Linked DNA regions of Homo sapiens: regions 2 and 3 are each linked to region 1. The links are contacts of gene promoters, found by promoter capture Hi-C in blood cells and fetal thymus (Javierre and others, 2016). All regions are on one chromosome and are shown on one strand. Each heading gives the region's core, a stretch centred on a gene start or on the middle of the fragment in contact. The rest is flanking DNA. Distances are from core to core; before and after follow the strand shown.

What was found. Contacts are between HindIII fragments. The CHiCAGO score rates a contact against its expected background, and 5 or more counts as called.
Region 2: a contact is called between a fragment that was not itself captured here and the fragment with the promoter of MFAP5 in region 1, in 4 of 17 cell types (naive CD8 T cells, M2 macrophages, erythroblasts and 1 more). The highest score is 11.9, in naive CD8 T cells.
Region 3: a fragment that was not itself captured here is called in contact with the fragment with the promoter of MFAP5 in region 1 in 7 of 17 cell types (M2 macrophages, M0 macrophages, erythroblasts and 4 more); the score reaches 13.5 in M2 macrophages.

What each region holds. Positions count from the first base shown.
Region 1 is chr12:8,661,313-8,665,523 of GRCh38, forward strand. It overlaps MFAP5 (microfibril associated protein 5), which reads right to left and starts at 1,514. Exons shown (of 10, transcript NM_003480.4): 1 at 1,315-1,514; 2 at 735-794. The coding sequence starts at 792. The HindIII fragment of the contact is 12,173 bases long and covers 1-4,211 here.
Region 2 is chr12:9,055,388-9,059,598 of GRCh38, forward strand. It overlaps LINC00612 (long intergenic non-protein coding RNA 612), which reads right to left. Exons shown (of 3, transcript NR_034140.1): 2 at 2,233-3,489; 3 at 202-351. It also overlaps a transcript of KLRG1 not described here. Among named protein-coding and RNA genes, the nearest start is that of LINC00612, 7.6 kb to the right of the region's middle. The HindIII fragment of the contact is 2,225 bases long and covers 777-3,001 here.
Region 3 is chr12:9,035,046-9,039,256 of GRCh38, forward strand. It overlaps a transcript of KLRG1 not described here and the pseudogene VDAC2P2. Among named protein-coding and RNA genes, the nearest start is that of LINC00612, 28 kb to the right of the region's middle. The HindIII fragment of the contact is 618 bases long and covers 1,493-2,110 here.

The sequences.
Region 1 (4,211 bases), core at 264-2,763:
AAGGAGGGAAAAAAATAGAGTAGGACATCTTTACAGCCTAAAGTTCACTTTCTGTGGCCAGTCTTCTAGCCAGATTCTGGGAAATCTGTGAAGATCACTTTTCTCTTGTGTGTCAGTATGGCATATATTTTTTGCATGCATGTGAGTATACCTGCATGCATGATGGTAATAGTGTATGTATTCCCACTGTTCTTCTTCAAGATTTACATTTGGTCCAGTTTCTTTTTTTCTTTTTTCCTTTTTTTTTTTAATGGAGATGAGGTTAACTCATCTCACTATGTTGCCCAGGTTGGTCTCAGTGATCCTCTCCACTCAGTCTCCCAAAGTGCTAGGAGTATAGGTGTGAGCCCACCATGCCCAGCCCAGGTCCAGTTTCTTTCTAGGTAGTCCCTCCTCTATGTTTGTGTATGCATTTGTATATCAGCTTCTTTTTTGCTTTGCAATTTGTTTACTCATATGTGACCCTCTTTGGGTGGTTAATATGCATTTGTGTGTATCTTAGTTGCACCTTAGTTTCATAATTCTTGGGAGGCCTTTCCCCTAGTCTGAAGTCTAGTCACATTCCTGAACTTTTTTTCTTAACACAAAATCTGTTCTTCTAATAGGAATTCCAGAGCTCAATACCAAGCATCTCTACTGCTATTCCTCTTCGACCTCATTCCATCCCATCTCCTGCCACACACGTGTATAGCTGAGGAGCTGAGGGTTTAGGGAGCAAAGAATAAAGGACTCACCAGAGGTGATGATGAATGCAGCAAGAAACAGCAGCACCTTGGGTCCCAAGAGCGACATATCTATAGGGGTGGTGGGCATAGCAGAGAATGTGATGCTCAGAGGCACATCAGCATTTCAGTGCCAGGGAAAGATGCCTCTGAGGTCCCTGTCTCTTTGTCTTCCCAGAACTTTCTTCATTTTCCCTTATGACTCAAACCCTTTCTCTCTTTTCTTACCTTTCACCCAACATTCATTTCTCCCTCAAATCTATTCCTTGGTCACTTACCATTATTCTTGCTTTTATTATTCTCTGCTACCAAGTCAGAGGAAATTTTACATTCTACATGGTCCGTACTTGGCCCTACCCTTTGGCCTCTTTCACCCCTGATGTGGAATCTTCCTTTCTCATATGCGTGACTTTTTCATATCATCTGCTCATCTTGGCGTCTCCTTCATCAGAATTCCACGGTTATTTGGGAGGTCTGCTCAAGACTAAGTTCAGTGACATTCCCCATTGCCCCCTCCAGCCCTTTCACACACACACAGACATACACACATTCCCTCTGTCTCTTTAGGGTTTCAGGTAATCAAATAACTCACTGTCTATGGTGTTCTGCTCTTTCCACCGAGTCCTTTGGCTGCTGAATGTGTCTCTCTCCTCTTACGCTGTTCCTACTTTGGCTGGCGAATAAGATGAACAGAGCCACTCCCTGGAAAGGACTTCAGATTTGGCCTCCGCTGAAACAATGAGATGAGGGAGAGCAAGAAAGCCAGGCTAGGCGTAGAATGTGTGTTACAATGAGGCTGGAATGAGAAGGGAGATGGGAATTTGCAGTTGCTCACACCCTCATTCCAAATGTTATGACTACACTGGTGAGAGCTCTTGCTGCTCCCTGGAAGTGTTGGCCCCAGCTCATGTATTGCCTTTCTTCCATTAGCCTATTTTCCCTCCTCTCACGATCTGGTCCCAGCTCCCCTTTGTTCCTTGGGTTCTTTCTTACCGAAAAGTTCCGTCTCCTCCTTGGTGTGTTTTAATGCACATTATAGATGCTGTTTCTCTCTCTCTGGCTATCTTCTTCTTCTTTGTTTTTTGTTTTTTTTTTTTAAGACAGAGTTTTGCTCCTGTCACCCAGGCTGGAGTGCAATGATGTGATCTTGGCTCACTGCAACCTCCGCCTCCTGAGTTCAAGCAATTATCCTGCCTCAGCCTCCTTATATTCCATATTTGAATCATTCCTTCATCCTTCTTTCTCACTTTCTTTTTCAATATTCGTCTCTTCAGCACTAACAAATTTCTTTTTATTCCTGTATTTCTTTTTCATCTCTGCCTCTTTCTTGACCTACACATTTAGACTCTTCTTGTTTTTTTTCCCCTTGGAATATCCTATGTATTCTCACAACCAAGCGAACACAGATACCTTATGAGTTTTGTCCAAGAGGAAGGCTGGCTACCTTAGGGTTATAAAAAGTTGAGGAACTTTTCAGAACTCTCCAAATCATTTTCAAATGTAGAGAAGCTCTGTGAAAGGGGTGCCAGCCTTACTTTGTCTTTTGGCTTTGTTTGAGCTTAACTAAGAATCTGGGTTTCTGGGCTCTTAAGGATAAAATGCAATCAGATGCCCAAAGAAAATTGAAAGGCAAGGTTATTATGCTTGCCTCATTTTCTACCAATATTTTTCCTTAGATCATATAATGTGTAGATAACACTTTCTCTGATCCAGGATTTTTTCTTTTTTTTAAGATAGGGTCTTGCTCTGTCACCCAGGCTGGAGTACAGTGGCATGATCACAGTTCACTGCAGGCTTGACCTGGGCTCAAGTGATCCTCCTGCCTCAGCCTCCTAAGTCGCTGGGACTACAGGTGCATGCCACTATGCCAGGCGAATTTAGATGTATTTTTTTGTAGAGACAGGATTTTGCTATGTTGCTCAGCCTTGATTCAGGAATTTTAAAGGCTTTGTATTTCTTCTTATTCACAGAGACTCTAGTGGTTCAACCACTAAAACATTCCCGCTTTGGATTCAAGAGCAAACTTGAATTACAGAAACTCAAGTCTGAGGAATGGTGGACCTTGTATGCCATAGAAATATGTAAGTTTCAGGTTTCCTGTTGGCTCCCCTTTAGTCTACATTATATATCTCCCTGATGAAATAAATTAGAGAAGAGTACAGGTAGACAGAGAGCAGATAGTATTAATAAATTACATACTAGAAGAAAATAAAAGGGGGTATGATGGAAGGAAGGAAAGAAGGAAAGAAGGAAGGAAGGAGTCTAGTTGAGAGGAAAAAAGAGCAGTGGACACAGAAATAAGCAAATCGCACTTTGTAAGCACCTCTGGGACCTCCGAGGGAGCTGTAAGTGCTACATCTCTAAGATACATGGAATCTGGTCAGTCCGCAGAACAAGCTGAGTGCTACGCCCAGCTCTTCCTGATCTTCCTGCCCCAGAACTTGCTCTTCTTCCATCTGCTCCCCAGTGAAGGGGCTGAGACTAGAAAACAGATGTGATTCTAGTCTGAGGAGAGTCAGGGGAAGAAAAGGGTGTTGGGAGAAGAAACAAAAAAGCAGATGCAAAGCAGGACATAGCTAAGGCAGGACATAGAATAGAGAGCCTAGAGCAACAATCAAGTTTTCCATGAAGCTCAGACAGATGGAGACACTGAACTCAGGCCAGTCATTTGGCAGGGAGAGCAATGACCTCAATGTGCTGGCCTGGCTAGAGGCTATAGTTTAGGAGAGCCTCCCCAGGCAGTGGGAGGGGGCGTTCTCCTGGGGTTGTAGGAGGTAGTCTGGAGTTGGGGCAGTGAAAATAGGAACAGAATGTTCAGAGCAGGGCTGAAGAAGAGAACAGGCAGGGAGTAGCATCCTAGAAGGAAAGGAGAGGTAGTGAGACAGGAACTGGCAGAAGAGCAGGACAACCATATATTGTTGGGTTTTAAAGACTTTTGAGAATGCAGTTTGTTTCAAGGTTGGTTAGTTTCTTTTTTTTTTTTTTTTTTTTTTTGTGAGATAGAGTCTCGCTCTGTTGCCCAAGCTGGAGTGTAGTGGCGTGAACTTGGCTCACTGAAACCTTCGTCTTCTGGGTTCAAGTGATTTTCCTGCCCTAGTAACTGGGATTACAGGCATCCGCCACCAGGCCCGGCTAATTTTTGTATTTTTAGTAGAGAGGGGGTTTCGCCATGTTGGCCTGGCTGGTCTCGAACTCCTAACCTCAAGTGATTTGCTCCCCTCAGCCTCCCAAAGTACTGGGATTACAGGTGTGAGACACCACACCTGGCCAAGGTTGGTTAATTTTTTCATGGCAACTATGGCGGGCCCTTTATTCTACTACAGTTCCCCATTTGTTCTCAGAGCCCAGGTTTGGATCCCCAGGCTTAGAGATCCTCAGATTTGCTTTTCTCAGGGTGATTTTGTCAGCCTCTGTTGCATTGTACATTAATTAATCATTTAATGACATCAAGTCAAAATCAGCACCAATGGTCAGAAACGAGCAAATGCC
Region 2 (4,211 bases), core at 639-3,138, 390 kb after region 1:
TTTCCCAGATTGCCATTACATTGCTTTGCATATTCTGAGGTTCTGCAGTAGTGAGGCTGTTGTGAATTGTTCCTAAATTTATGCTAGGTGCTCTTACCTCAATTTGGATGCCATTATTTGTTTATTGCAAATACAGGGTACAATGAAAAGCAGTAAGTGCGCATGGAGTAAATTTGCATTAAATGAAGAAGGAATCAATTATAGAGTCTCTAGAAATACATATTTATTTGCCAACCTCATTCAGTATCTGTATTGCAGGGACAAAATATCCTTTTAAAAAGTCGTGGGTCTGGGGATTCCAGCCAAGTCTTGTTTATAGACACAAGCCTCAAACATTTTCTTGCTCTGTGCCTGTGGAGAGAAGAGGAAAGCGAACAGGATGACTTCGGGCTTGCCAAGGAGTGAATTTAATTCTAATTGGATATGGACAGCAGCAGGGCTTTGCTAAAGGAGACCAAACTGGTTATGGCTGAGAATGGAATCCATCAGATATCTACCCTAATCACAGGGTAATTTCATTTACACTCTTCTGATAAGAAAATCAGGAAACCTTCCAGGAAGTTAGTGTTCCTCTCCAAAGCTGTATAGTTCTGCGTTACCTTGCAGTATGATAAATCTGATATCAACTAATAAAAGATGTAGATGATTTTGTATTTAGGAGGACTGCTTTTGAGAGCAAAATGAAGGCTTGGGATATGTAGAGCAAACTGCCTATCGGCTGCAGGGGACACTGTATTCAGCAAATTTGCTTCATCTGAAACACACAATGGGAGAAAAGCTTGAGAATGGGAGCTTCAACGGGACAGGGCTATGTGGAGAGGCTTTGACCTATTTAAGGACTGCAAACCATACTGAATCAGGGCCTGCGTGATCACAAAAATGTCAGCTCACTGGGGAAATATATAGACATGGTCAAGGAATTTCCACTCTTGATACCATTAGTATAATCCGTTACTCTGGTGGAAAATCAAAGCCTGCTCATGCTACAGTGTTCAAGCAAAGTACTAGGGGGGATCACGCGGGTATGTGTTCTTTCAGTTCTTGTTCCATATTTGCTTCTTTTTTCTTGCATGATATTTCTTATATGTTTTCCTCATCTGAAAGACTTAGCATAATTCTCTCCATAAATCAGTATAATACCCACGATTTATATTCCAGCTGAAATTTTACTTGGGGGGTGTGTGTGTGTGTGTGTGTGTGTATTTTAGGGATGGGGTCTCACTCTTTCACTCACTGCAGCCTCAAACTCCTGGGTTCCAATGATCGTCCTGCCTCAGCCTCCTGAGTAGCTGGGACTACTACAGGTGTGTACCAGCATGCTGGCTGATTTTATTTTTCAATTTTTTGTAGAGATGGGCTCTCACTTAGTTGCCCAGGCTGGTCTCAAACTTCTAGCTTTAAGAGATCATTCTGCCATGGCCTCCCAAACTGCTGGGATTATAGGCATAAGCCACTGTGCCCAGCCTCTTCATTTGCTGTTTAAAGACCACTCAACGCTATAGTTCTCACCCCTCTCTTAGTTCCTACTATAATTATTTGTATAGTTCTTAGGCTCTTCTTTATTTCTTTGCATTGCTATATTATCTTTTTAAGATTTATGTATGCCTTTATTTATAAGCACTTCTACGTAAAACTCTTGGTACTTTGGATTATTTTGCACGACTGATAGGCTTACATATCAATATACATGTATATTACAGGTAGTTTTGGCAGTAGTTTTGTAGGCCAAGGAAGAAAAAATAAGTTATGGAGACAGATTAAACTGAAAACAAGATGTACAAGGGTTTACCACACTTTTATTGCTTTAAGAATTGAGGTTTGGCCTCCACTTCCACCCTTGTTGCTACTATCTCAAGTGAAATAACTCAGAAACAGGAGGTCAAATACTTCACATTCTCACTTATAAGTGGGAGCTAAATAATTTGTACACATGGACATAGAGAGTGGGATAACAGATACTGGAGACTCAGAAGGGTGGGAGGGTGACAGGGCAAGAGGGATGGGAAATCACTTAATGGGTACAATGTACTCTAATTGGGTGATGGCTACACTCAAAGCCCAGACTTCACCACTGTGCAATGTAGCCATGTAACAAAACCATACTTGTACCCCCTAAATCTATATAAAGTAAAAAAGAAAAAAACCCCAAACACATTGGCTTTTATTTTATTTTTCCATCAAAGACACCACACTGGAAAGAACTGAGTTTATCTAGGATTCTGTTTTGCTCACCTGTCTTATAGTAATCATAGGCTTTCACAAAAGCAGGTTTCAGCTTTCTTATGGGGTTGTCTTGCAGAAGAGTGAAAGAAAAGGTCAGTGTTCAATCCGTAACCCAAGAAAGGAAGGAGTAATAATGCGGAACCAGGGAGGCCTCATCTCTTTTTCCTTAGCATCAGTCTTCATCCTTTGAAAGATAATTTTTTAGTGGGCTAATAGGATTCATTCTCTAATTCATTGTGCTCCCTAATGGCTCACATAGGGAGCAGTTGGAGGGTGATGTGGATTTTAGAGTAGGAACCTCAGGAACTTGAGCAGAGGCTCCCAAAAGTAGATTAGAAGTTTATTAGTCTTTTAAACGATTAAAATAATACATATTCCTCCATAATATCCAACACATGGCTCTGCCTATAGTGAGAGATAGATTCTTTATACTGGCAAGCTGACTCTATCTATATTAATATTAATATTTCCAAATATTCAGGAAACAGGCGTACATCAGGGGCTGTTCTTTTGCTGCAAATGAAGTTGATGGAATTACACTGTGATACGACTGACTGTGAGTAATAGATCTAGACTGATAGCATATCTGTTTATCATCTGTATCTAATCTGTCATCTACCTTATTTATCTATTATCTATCTAGCTATCTCTCTATGTATAATTTATCTAACTTCTCTCATACATGTATGCTAAGGTAAGGTTGATTTAATCACTGACAACCCTTGGAAACACTTCCTATCCTTGATTACCAACTTTCAACATGGCTTCTGGATGATGAAGCTTATTTATGGAAAAGAATGTTTATCTGAAGTATACAGAAATATTCATATGCTCATTTTAATATAAACAAACATATATGTTTTAATATAAACATATAAATATTCATATGCTCATTGTAATATAAACAAACATATATGTTTTAATATAAACATATAAATATTCATATGCTCATTTTAATATAAACAAATCCATACCTACTGGCCTCCCCCAACCCTCTTGTCTGTGACACTCCAAATCCCAGGAAGCTTGCGATGAGGAATGAGGATGTAAAATATCTCACGTGAACAGAGAGGATGTGCTTTTCCAAATGGCCTTCCTAATGACTGCTCTTCTCGTACCACGTGCTTGCCTGGTGATGAGATCCCCTAGAAGGACTGTTCACCTGGGTCTGTCTAGCAAGGCTGGCAGGGGCCCCACCTGGTCCACAGAAATCAAGATATGGTTGTTGTGCACTTCTGTCCTGCTCACGTGGCTAGATCTTTCAAGCTAAGGAAAATAAGAGAAATCACCAGTGTTACTGAATAAAGAAAGCCTGTGGGGTACAAAGAGACAAATAGACTATGAGATTGAAGAAGTCTATACATAAACAAAGCTGGGGTTAAATTCATTTAAATGAGTTCGAAGACACTTGTCCAGTAAGATGAAAACATATACAGAGTATTATGAATACCACCACATTAGATACAAGATTGAATATTCATATGATTAAGTAACAGGCGTCTTTAGCATTTGTTTGAAGGTGAGGGAGAAGTGTCCTCACATTGGATAGCTAGTCATCTGAGATGATTTGCAAAGCCATCTGTCTCTACACTGCCATTCATCTCAGCTTTCTCTACATTTCACAGTACTTAAAGACTATGCCAATGATTTTGGTACTTAATTATATCTTGCCCTGAAATGTCATTTGACAGTTTTGGTTACCCATGTGTAATATTTTTATCTAGAATGTATCAGCACCTAGCACAATGCTAAATATATATTTGGTACTATATGAATTCAATTTCCTTAGATTATGACCAATGTTGCTTTGACATTATTAGGATACCATTGTTTTATTCTTACATTGGATTAAAAAAATCCAAACACCTAGCACCTATTTACCATTTTCACTGTGGGTTTCAATGGATAAAACCAGATATCAACTTGGATACATCCAAGATTAGACAGCTCCCTGTGTAACTATAGATATAAGAAAGAAAAATAAGCCT
Region 3 (4,211 bases), core at 552-3,051, 370 kb after region 1:
GAAAAAAACTTATATAATAAGGATATAAAGAAAGAAAATATTTTTGTATAGCTGTACAATACATTTGTGTGGTAAGCTGTGCGTTCATACAAAAAAGTGTAGTTTGGAGATTTCTCGAAGAACTTAAGACAGAACTACCTTGGAACCAACCCAAATGTCCATCGATGATAGACTGGATAAAGAAAATGTGGCACATATACACCATGGAATACTATACAGCCATAAAAAAGGATGAGTTCATGTCCTTTGCAGGGACATGGATGAAGCTGGAAACCATCATTCTCAGCAAACCATCACAATAACAGAAAACCAAACACCACATGTTCTCACTCATAAGTGGGAGTCGAACAATGAGAACACATGGACACAGGGAGGGGAACATCACACACCAGGGCCTGTCAGGGGGTAGGGAGCTAGGGGGAGGGATAGCATTAGGAGAAATACCTAATGCAGGTGACGGGTTGATGGGTGCAGCAAACAACCATGGCACATGTATACCTATGTAACAAAACTGCACGTTCTGCACGTGTACTCCAGAACTTAAAGTAAAAAAAAAAAAAAAAGACAGAACTACCATTCAACTCAGCAATCTCATCACTGAGTATATACCCAAAGGAATATAAATTGTTCTACCAAAAAGGCACATGCACGTGCATGTTCCTTGCAGCACTATTCACAATGGCAGAGACATGGAATCAACCTAGATGCCCATCAACAGTGGACTGGATAAAGAAAATGTGGTACATCTACACCATGAAATACTACACAGCCATAAAAAATAAAATCATATTCTTTGCAGCAACATGGATGGAGCTGGAGGCCATTATCCTAAGTGAACCAATGTAGGAACAGACAACCAAATACCACATGTTCTCACTTATAAGTAGGAGGTAAACATTTAGTATGCAGGGAGGCAGAGTGGAACAAAAGACACTGAGGGCTACTTGAGAGTGGAGATTGGGAGAGAGTGAGGATGGAAAAACTGTCTATTGGGTACTGTGCTCATACCTGGGTAACGAAATCATTTGTACACCCAACCCAGTGACATGCAATTTACCCATGTAACAAACCTGCACATGTACCCACTGAACCTAAAATAAAAGTTAACACAAAAAGGAAAAAGTTTATTAAGTAAAAAAATTAGAAGAAGCTAAGGTTAATTTATTATTGAAGAAAGAGATTTCACTTCACGGCAGCTGTGGCCTGACTGTGAGGCGGCTGACCAGCCTCAGCTGAGAGTGGAGTGGTGGCCGTGGCCCTCCTTAGGAGATCACCATATCACCTCTTACTGTGGCCTTACCATGGCGACCTATGGGCAGACCTGCATGTGGCCAGTGTGGATTTCTTCATCATATGTTAACCTTGGCAAAGCTGCCAGAGATATTTTTAACAAAGGATTTGGTTTGGGGTTGGTAAAACTGGATGTGAGAACAAAGTCACGCAGTGCTGTGGGATTTTCAACATCTGGTTCATTTAATGCAGACACTGGAAAAGCTTTTGAAGTCTTGGAGACCAAATATAAACGGTGTGAGTATGGTGTGACTTTCCCAGAAAAATGAGACACTGTTAATACTCTGGGAACAGAAATCACAATTGGACCACCTTTGTCAAGGTTTGAAACTAATATTTGATACTACCTTCTTAGCAATCACAGGAAACAAAAGTGGTAAAATCAAGTCCTCTTGCAAGAGGGACTGCATAAACCTTGCTTGTGATGTTAATTTTGATTTTGCTGGACCTGCAATCTATGCTTCAGCTGTCTTTGGTTACGAGGGCTGGCTTGCTGGGTACCAGATGACCACTGACAGTGCCAAGTCAAAGCTGACAAGGAATAACTGTAGTGGGCTACCGGATGGGGGACTTCGAGCTTCACACTAATAACAATAATGGGGCAGAATTTGGAGGCTCAGTTTATCAGAGGGTATGTGACAATCTTGATACTTCAGTAAACCTTGCTCGGACATCAAGTGCCAACTGCACTCATTTTGTCTTGCCACTAAATATCAGTTGCATTTCACTGCTTCTATGTTTGCAAAAGTCAACAACTCTAGTTTAATTGGAGTGGAAGGAAAGAGACTTCATTTACACTCAGACTCTGAGCCTGCTGTGAAGCTTGCACTTTCTGCTCTGCTAGATAAAAAGTGCATTAATGGAGGAGGCCAAAGACTTGGGTTTGTCCTGGAGTTGGAGACTTAATCCAGCTGAAAGAAATGGCAATGGATATCAGAAGATTTGGCTTTAATATACTTTCATTGTGATCAGCAGGCTCTTCCCACAAAGAAGGTGATCAAAACAAAGGCTCTAAACAAGAGCTATATTTTAAATATTTAAACAGCTACTCGTTAGCTGGTTTCTAGTTGAATTGGTTATGTATCTAGTTACCAATATGCTGCAACCGTGCAGTCACCTACACATTATTTAAGTATATTTAACTGTTAAATGCACTACCCACCAATCATGAAATAAACTTTATGAAAAAAATTTTTTAAAATGAATTTACTATAGCTTGAGTATACAGTGTGTATAAAGTCTACAGTAATGTACAATAATGTCCTAGGCTTTCACATTCACTCACCACTCACTGACTCACCCAGAGCAACTTCCAGTCCTGCAAACCCCATTCGTGGTAAGAGCCCTATCGAGGTGTACCATTTTTAATGTTTTATACTGTTTTTTGATGGTACCTTTTCTATGTTTAGATACATTTAGATACACAAATATGTGCCATTTTGTTATAATTGCCTACAGTAACATGCAGTCCAGGTTTGTAGCCTAGGAGCAATTGGCTACACCATATAGGCCAGGTGTGTGGTAGGCTCTTCCATCTAGGTTTGTGTAAATACAATCTATGACCTTTGCACAAAAACAAAGTTGCTTAGGGTTACGTTTATCAGAACATATCCCTGTAATTCAGTGATACCTGTGTTAAAAGATGTACTGCAGTGGCTCATGCTTGTAATCCCAGTGCTTTGGGAGGCCAAGACAGGAGGATTGCTTGAGGCCAGGAGTTTGAGACCAGCCTGGGCAGCACAGTGGGAACCCCCAATCCTTACAAAAAATAAAAAATTGGCTGGGTGTGGTGGTGCTTGCCTATAGTCCTACCTATTCAGGAGGCTGAGGCTGGAGACTCGCTTGAGCTCAGGAGTTCAAGATGGCAATAAGCTGTGATTGTGCCACAGCACTCCAGCCTGGGCAACTGAGCAAGACCCTGCAAGGAATTGGCTCATGGCTAGGCAATTCCAAAATCCATAAGGCAGGCTGCCAGGAAGGGCAGGCTGGGACTCTCTAGCAGAAGCCAAAGCTGCTGAAGCTGCTGTCTATAGGTAGAAATTCATGTTTATCAGGGAAGCCTTAATTCCACTCTTAAGACCTTTCAACTGATATTGAATCAATTTCACCTAGATTATCTAGGATACTTTCCCTTACTTAAAATCAACTGGTTACGGACTTTAACGAAATCTACAAAATACCTTCAATAAATATCTAGATTAGTGTTGGATTGAGTAACAGGGGACTATTGCCTAGCAAAGTTGACACATGAAAAAACCATCCCAGGTAACTTCCACACAAAATCATGGCCAGAGAACAATAGTACCAGAGCAAGACTTTTCCCTCTTCTTTGAATTCCCCATCTTTGAGGCTGGAGGGCTGCATCACTCCCCCACTGCTGGTTTGTGAGAGCTGTATGTAGAGGAAAACAAAAATTAGCCGGGCGTGGTGGCAGGCACGTGTAATCCCAGCTACTCGGGAGGCTGAGACAGGAAAATCGCTTGATTCTCCACCCAGGAGGTGGAGGCTGCAGTGAGCAGAGATCGTGGGCTGCACTCCAGCCTGGGCAACAAAGTGAGACTCTGTCTCAAAAAAAAAAAAAAAATTGAAACAAAAAATGAATTGGTTATAAGAATAACATTTTGATTTAGATTGGATTAAACTTTCTCAGTCAAATGAGACTGTTAGAGTAGCTTAAATTTATTAGAAGAGCTAAATGATTTGTCTGATAAGTTGTCCAAGGGTATGGAGGCTCTGGTTGGAGAATAAAGCTCTTTCCTGATTGCAATATATGAATTCTGTTCATTCAATAAGTTGGTCATATGTATAAAGTAGACGATTGCTAAATATAACATTAGTTATCACCTTCAAAGCTTATCTCTTCGCCTCCGCGTCTATTCTCTTTGTCCTCTCTCATTTGTTGTTTTTGATGGCTACTCTAT